2 separate regions of the Homo sapiens genome follow, and region 1 is linked to region 2. The links are contacts of gene promoters, found by promoter capture Hi-C in human tissues and cell types (Jung and others, 2019). All regions are on one chromosome and are shown on one strand. The core of a region is centred on a gene start or on the middle of the fragment in contact, and the rest is flanking DNA. Distances in the headings are between cores, read along the strand shown. Region 1 overlaps STK32B (serine/threonine kinase 32B). Region 2 holds the start of EVC2 (EvC ciliary complex subunit 2).

Evidence for each region. The method cuts DNA at HindIII sites, captures the fragments that hold promoters and counts their contacts. A contact is called where the count stands out against the background at its distance.
Region 1: a fragment that was not itself captured here is called in contact with the fragment with the promoter of EVC2 in region 2 in 1 of the 25 tissues and cell types used here (dorsolateral prefrontal cortex).

Annotation. Positions count from the first base shown.
Region 1 is chr4:5,398,314-5,402,029 of GRCh38, forward strand. The region is part of intron 5 of STK32B (serine/threonine kinase 32B); the gene reads left to right. Among named protein-coding and RNA genes, the nearest start is that of LINC01587, 120 kb to the right of the region's middle. The HindIII fragment of the contact is 3,188 bases long and covers 787-3,716 here.
Region 2 is chr4:5,706,673-5,710,787 of GRCh38, forward strand. EVC2 (EvC ciliary complex subunit 2) reads right to left here and starts at 1,887. Exons shown (of 22, transcript NM_147127.5): 1 at 1,614-1,887. The coding sequence starts at 1,841. RefSeq lists silencers at 1,507-1,886, 1,927-1,976 and an enhancer at 1,827-2,446. The HindIII fragment of the contact is 11,868 bases long and covers 1-4,115 here.

The DNA.
Region 1 (3,716 bases), core at 1,131-3,630, 310 kb before region 2:
GGTGGGGGTTGGGTCTTGCTGAGTTGGACATTAGCATTGGCTAGAAACCTTCTCTTGTTTCAATCCTGGTGGATCAACATCTGTGTAAATTTCTGGTCCATGTCCTGCCGTGGTAAGTTGAATCAAAGTTATTTAAACTGTTCGCATCTGAAGTCATTGCTGTTCATATCCCCGTGTGAGGAGGACAGGGCCGCCGTGAGGATGAGCCCGGGGTTCCAACCCCAACTCCCTCACCTATGAACGTGTGGCTTCAGAAGTCACCCACCTCTCTGAGCCTCAGTGTAATTTTCTGTAAACTGGGGAGAAGGCACCTCCCTTGCAGGGTGTTCATGAGGGTGAAATGAGAGTACACACTCATTTCTAGCAAGCAGAGCTTAATACTTGATAATCCACTAAGCATTTACTCATCTATCGGCTATGTCAGGCTTCTCAAAATTTCCTTTATGTGCACACAGATCTCCTAGGCATCTTCTCAAACTGATTTAGTAAGTCTGAGATGGGACTAGACTCTGCAAAGTCCAGAGTCTGCAAAGCTCCCAGGTGGCTGATGCTGCTGGTCCATGGACCACACCTTGAGTAGCAAGGCACCAAGTCAGTGGCTCTCCAACTCTGGCCTTACCAGAATTACCTGGGGGACCTGGTAAAAATCAGAGGTCAGGCCCGGTCCTGCTTCAGCAAGCCTGGGCTCCTGTGTTCTGGATCCTGTGTCCTGTGTTGGGATGGAATGCCCACAAAGTTTAAGAACCATGAGCCTAGGGCTCAGATCAAGAATGCTCAGTGGACTTGACAATCAATTGTGGCTGATGCCAACAGGAGACTTACAGCCTTCAAAACTAAATTCACTGGCATTGCTTCAGGGGCCCGTCTCTCAGGGCCTAACATGGGGTTGGCTGGAGGGAGCAGGTGCGAATTCTTCTGAAGTAGGGATTCTCATCCCTGCTGAGGCCTTCAGGGATGAATGAGTCACATTTTCTACGCAGCTCCCCCACCCTCCTTCCCCACCTCTGCAGGCTGAGGTCATGGTTCTATCTCAGAGCTCCTCTCGAACCTTCCATGAGCCAGCAGCATAGCTTGGGGCATCCTAACCTCATAGTGTGCATCCCTATGTACAGGAGTGGTGGATGGGACCATTTGCATCTCTGCATCAGATGCTGGAACCAGACTAAGTGCTTTGGGGGCAGTAGGATTGAACTCACTGTGCTCCTGAATGGAAGGTCAGCAGCAGCCCCAAGATGCCTGGGGCATGGACAGAGCTGAGGATCCAAATCAAGGCTGGAAAGGAAGCGAAAGCAACGTCTCCAGTTTGTATCTAAAAGTCAGGATCTTCAGATGTGGCACTCAGCTGAGCCCCCAGCCAGCTGAATGTCCTTGGGCCAGTGGCTGTACCTCCGTGTCTCAGCCTTCCCAGCAGCGATGCAGAAGTAATTGACCCACCTTGCAGGGTGGTGAATGTCTCATCTCGGGTGAGACTCGAAGGTCAGCCACCCATCACAGTATGCAAGCGCTCGGGAAGGGGTAGATAACTCGCCCTCTTCCTGTCCCCTTTCTCTGCTCAGGGCCAGGCAAGGTCAAATCACAGAAGCAGGGTAAAGAGGTGAGAAAACACAGAGGCTGGTTCTGCTTAGCTGTCTGGAAAGCAGGGGTCTGGAAGGCTGGGTTCCAGGCAGCATCCTCAAGGCTCTGTCCTATTAAGAGAGACCGCTAGGGGGAGACTTCCTGGCCCTGCAAAGCGGTCCAGAAGCAAAATTCAGACAGAAACATCAATAGCAATAAGCTAGCCATTGCACTGATGAGGAAAAGTGACACAGAGAGTATGGGGGTAACCCAGGACTGCCTGGCTTCATAGTTCTGGCTCCATCCTCACAGACCTTGGCCACAGCTCCCCTGAAGCTGCTGCACAAAAGATATAGGCAGGCGGGCTGCTCCCAGGCAGCCTCCCCTAGGTTTTCTCTTTCCTGCCTTTTGGATTTCCATCCATCCCATTCCGCCTCCCTTTCTGTACCCATTCTCAGCCTCCACCTCAGCCTTCCCCACATTCTTTCTGCATCTCGTTCTGCCCCCTTGAGCTCCTCATCTTTTTCCACCCCCTGCTTGGCCTTCACAGTGTCCCAGCCCTGCCTTCTGGCTATGCAGCACCCCACACACTCCCCAAGTGCCCCTGCATCCAGTCTTCTCCCTCTCCAGCCTCCCATTTCATCGAAAAGTCTCTGCTAGCTGGTGGGACAGAGCGTTGAATATAATATTTCATACTGTGAGGTGAATGGCTGATAACCCTTCCCCACTCCAACACTCAATGAGTGGCTTTGCAGGTGGTACAGAAAAGAAATTTAGGAGCAGGGAATTCCGCTCAGAAAAAGAAGAGTCTCCTTTCTGGGGAGAGAAGAGAAAGAGAGAATTCTATGCCCATGGCCCTCCTTTACCTGCTCTTCTGAGGGGAGCTGATCGGCTTTTTGAGCAGAGCCTGAAGCTGGCCATTCTTGCCTTTGTCTTTCCCTCAGTAAACATCTCTTGAGCACCTGCTGTGTGCCAAGTTCTGGTTAACAGAATGATGAACAAGGCAAACAGGGTCCCAACGCTGATGGGTTTCATGGTGTTGGGGAGAGTGTGGGGAAGCTCAGGAGAGGTCGGGCAGAGGGGAGAGGGAAAGGTGTGTGCGGGGTTGTCTTAGAGGCAGCCGCATGACAGTGGGATCCTGAAGGCATGACAAGGCCAAACAGAGGAAGGTGCCTGGATGGACAGGTGGTAGAGACAGTGGGGCAGAACTGCAGAAACAAGAGGGGAATGGCTGTTTGAGGAATACAACAGCAGTTTATTTTGTAGGTTTATAACATTTAAAATTAATCTTATGCCTTCAAAACCTTCACTGTGAAACATGACCTAGCCATAAGATGAGCAGGACAGTATGTGTTCCTAAATGAGTCCTAAGGGCACCCCATTCGTGCTGGCATCTACTTGCACCTTTTGTAAACTGCATGACAAAACCTTTTACAAACCAATAACTGTGTATTGCTATTTCAAGAGTTCCATCATTGGTTGCATTGAATACTTTCTCAGAGAACAAGTTGGTCAGTTGTGTTTCAAATGAAATATAAACATAATTAAACAAATGCATTAATATTTTATTAATGATGTCCAAAATCTGCTAGTTACACAAAATCCAAGCATCTCTCACAAGCTTCTCTGCTCCCCTAGTGTCTGCCTTACTTTCTGATCTTTCAGGGTTTTATGTCTTGGAATGGACACTTTCATTCTGCTCTGAGATTTGAGGTCTCTGAGCCAGCTGCAAAAGCAGAGAGATACCACGCATTGAGGTAAAATAGAGTGAAAGAAGATACAGCATCTCAGAACAAGGCAGGGAAAAGAGCTGAGTGCATTTTAGGCTGAGGATCATAAGATCAAGACAATGGGGAATTTAAAGACATAGAGGGAGGGGGGAAGCAATTGTATTGATTTTCTATTGGTACAATAAAGCTGGGTAATGAACCACATAACTTAAATCGCATAAACAAAAAACATCCCGTTAGCTCACAGCATCCTGGGGTTGAGGGACTCTAGGCTGGGCTTGGCTGATCTTGGCTGGGCTTGCTCCTAAGACCAAGGTTGGGTAGGCAGGACTGTTGATGTTGGCTAAACCCACTCCAATGTCTGAGGCTCAACTGGCTGTCAGCCGATCCCCTCTGGCCTTGGCTGGCTGGCCGGGTGACTCAGCCCTGCTC
Region 2 (4,115 bases), core at 637-3,136:
GGCAGGGACACACATGGCCAGAGCTCTTTCCTGTACAGTGTGCAGAAGGGCTATGCAAGACAGGCCCAGAGAGACGGAAGAAGGCTGGTCCCATCAACAGCTGGGATGGGCGTGGGCAGGGCCAGGGCCCAGGGGACGTGCTCAAGATGCCAAGGGCACCTGAATACAGGTGCTCATTCCCAGATTCCTGCAAAGGCAGGGGTTGCCCTTGAGGGTGAGGTACTCTACACCCACCATGGTCCTAGATGGCTTCAGGCCCTTCCCAGTAGGCACCGTCCCTCCCTTCTGGCAGGGACCACCCTCAACACCACTGTGGCTGACAGAGGCCAATGTGCACCAGGATTTCTGACACTGGCTTCCCAGAAGGAAGAGCTTGTGCAAAGCAGGTGAGGCCAGGCACGCAGGCTCTGAACTCGGGGGCCAGAGAGAGAGTACAGGACAGGCCTGGGGACGCGGCTCCCTGAGCCTTGGTTTTGTCACCTGCAAAACGGGCCAGATACTCCCATCTCACAGGGCAGATGCAAGTGAAAGGACCCAGGGAACATGTTCTGTCATTGGACTTTTGAAAGCTCAGGACACTGACATGGCGTTTTTCCAGTGAAAACCTAAAGACAGAAAGGGAGCAGGGTCTCTTTTAAGAGACTAAACCTCTGCCAGTGTCGCAAGTGTCCTGGGGTAGAGAACACAGCAGGACACGACCCACCACCCTAGGAGAGAGGTGGGAGGACCTCAGGGCAGCATCAATGGGCCAGACCATTGGCCAGGGCAGTCCTGGGAATAGGAGCCTGGGTGTGCTGTCAGGGGCAATAAGGTGGAGAGAAGAGTGCCAGCATGGGACAGGAGTGGCAGAATGTCTACCAGGACAGACCACCCCAGAGGTCTGGGGGAAAATGGATGGGAGACGTGGGAAAACCATCACCAAGGGCTGGAAGTGAAGTGGTGGGACCTGAAGCCAGGGAGTGGCAGTGGGGAGTGAGGAGGGGCAGACATCCGAGCTGATTTGGAGGAAAAGGCACTAGGACTGGTGACCAGCTTTGTCGGGGGAGGTCAAGTCTAGGGCTACAGCCAGGGATCCATGCCTTTCGAGTTTAGGACCACAGAGGGAGGGCCAGGGTGAAGTAGGAAGTGGCTAAATCCATCAGCCAGGAGAGTTCAGTCACCTAAGAGTCCAGCCAAGAGCCCCCACTTTTAAAAACCGCTGCAATTTCCCAGTGCTGGCCTCTGCAAGGGGCTCTGCATATGTGAGCTCATCTAACCCACTTCCACCCTCTGGGGTGGACGCCGCGACGGCCCCGTTTCAACGATCAGGAAACTGGGGCACAGGAGTGAACTGCCCTAGGTCGAAGCTCGTAAAATGGAGAGCAGGATTCGAACCAGGGTCGCTGGTGAAGTCCAAGCCGGCAGCTGCCACACCCCGAGGAAGGTCTCCAGTTTCCCTCGAAGCTTTCTGGCCGTGAGCGGGATACACCTAAGGGCCGCGAAGCACCCTATTCAGATCCTGCCCTCCCTTCCTCATTCTTTGCGAAATACTAAGGGTCCTCCCTGCCACCGCCGGTGTAGACAAAGTCAAACCACTACAGTCAGACCGGAGCCTGGGGTCGGGCCCTCCTTACCTGCGTGCTGCTCTCGGGCCCCGCCCCGCTCCGCCCCGGAGGGATCCTCAGGCCGGGCCCAGACCTAGGAGCCACCTGGGGATCCCGGGGTGGCTGCGCGCCGAGGGGGCGCCAGCGGGGACGTGAGCTGGCGCCGAGACAGCCTCGGCCCCCCAGCGCCAGGGCCACTGCCAGGAGACCCCCGGCCAGCACCCACGTGGGGCGCCCCCGGGAGCCCGAGGGGTCCATCGCCTGTCGGGACCCGCTACCTCAAAGCGGCGGGTGCCGCCGAGTCGCTGGAGCTTCCGGACCCCAGGCCCGCCCCGCCGCCGAGCATGCTCAGTGCGAGCCGCCGCCGAAAGTTTTCTGGAACAAACACCCGCATCTGGGGCTTGGCGGGCCAGGAGGTGCCGGACGGGCGTGGGAGGGGGAGAGCGAGTTGGCGCGGCCCAGGCGCCCGGCGGCCAGGCCTGGGTTTGCTTGCGCCCAAACCGAATCAGAGCGGGTCACTCCCCTGCTCCCCGAGGTTACCAGGACCCCAAGGGCCCCTCCGCTACCGCCTACCTGGGTCTGTAAGCCTCAGCTCAGACGCACTTCCCCTGGGAACGGTTTCCTGACACACGGATGTGAATCCAGAGTTTCCCCATCCCCGCTTAGAAAACGGAGAAGCATTTGGAGCGCGGGGCCGGGAGTCCTGGAGCACCCAGAAGGTTCAGGAAAGCTCGGGGAGGAGGGGGTGGCCGCAGAGAAGGAAAAGGACCCTCACTTCCGGTTGCGTTCAGTGCAGACCAGCTGAGCACCCACTGCCCGAGCCTGCTGTGGGTCAGCCCTGGGCCGGCCCGGGTGCCCCTCGCATTCCCAGTGGGAAACAGGCCAGCCGCTGGGCCACCTCTCTGGGGACCTAGAAAGAGGGGAGCTGGTGTCTGAAGTCGCAGCCCTAAGCAAGCTCTCCCTGAACTCTCCGAGGGGACAGGGATTTGCTTTGCCAAGGGACGCAGGAGGAGGAGGAGGAGAAAGACACAAAAAGGGGGACTGGTGGAGCCTTTTGTGTGCTTCCTCATCCCTGCCTAGGTCCTGGGTGACAGCTGACACCTGTTGACGGGGGAGGGCTCCACTCCCGCCAGCCTTCCTGCGGGGCAGGCTGTTAGGCTGTCTATAAAGTCTCAGGCCAGCGAGCCTGGCCCCTGGCAGCCTCTCTCCCCATAACCCAGACCATCCAAGGACAGGCCTTTCCTGACCTAACATGGACAAGGCCATGGGGTTCGAGAAGCTGAGAATTTATAAGCCAAGTTCCCCACACCAGGGGGTACGTGGCAGCTGTCAGGCATGTGACAAGACCACAGGCTAAATGCCAAGCATGTTGCTGGACCGTTGGAGTTGTTTGACAGTCAGTCATTTAAAGGTTAATTTAATAGTCAACAACTTTATGATAAAGTAAAAAGCAAATAACCCTACATTTAAAAAATCTCCTTAGTATTTTTTATGGAGTCAGGGTCTCACTATGTTGCCAAGACTGGTCTTAAACTCCTGGGCTCAGACAATCCTCCACTTGAGCCTCCCAAAGTGCTGGGATTACAGGCGTGAGCAACCACACCTGGCCCAAACACCACATTTTAAAAACTAAAGCCTAAGCATTCATGGAAATGTAAAACAAGAGCGTCAAGTTATTGCCCCCATACATGTCCCCAGGAACCTTGGAGATGCTTCTAAGGTAATATATAAGAAGCTCCACATAGCAGAGAGTTTGCCCTGAAGCCAGACACAGGTGTAAATGAGACAAGAATTCTGCCCCACTCCTTAATTGCAAATGAGTCACCTCTCCTCTCCAGCTGTCAGTTTCTTCATTTATTAAAAAAAGATGAAGAATTTGGATAACAGTTCCCATCTTGCCATGAGGAAATGATGAAACAAACTAGAAACAAGCTGGACATCTAGGCTGAAAGGACAAAGCCCTCCTCTGCTGAAGCAGATCCCCATGGTGTCCCCTAGCCCGGCCCACACAGGGAATTAAGCTCCACAGGGTAGGTGTGTGTGTGTGTGTGCCCCTGAGTGCAAGTGTGCAGTCGTGCATGTGCATGTGTGCTTTACCCAGGCACCCAGGACAAAAGCAAACATCTAGTAGCTACCCCATAAATGTTTGTTTAAAGCAAACACAGTGATGAACTCCTTTAATTTTTTATCACTCTAAACAACTGTGAGATACTCACTAGCCTGGACACTGCCTGGTTTGTGGCTGGCCTATCCCCCAGCCTGCAACACACACACAACAGATTCTCTCCAAGTGCTGAGTAAATGAAGGATGGTGCAGTGTCCTGGTCCTAGTGGGGAGCGGGTGTAAGGGTCTCTTTATCCATTGTCTCAGTGGGGAGTGGGTGTAAGGGTCTCTCTACCCTTGGTCCTAGTGGGGACTAGGTGTAAGGGTCTCTCTACCCATCGTCTCAGTGGGGTCTGGGTGTAAGGATCCCTTTACCCATCCTCCTAGTGGAGACTGAGTGTAACGGTGTCTCCACCCATTGTCTCGAC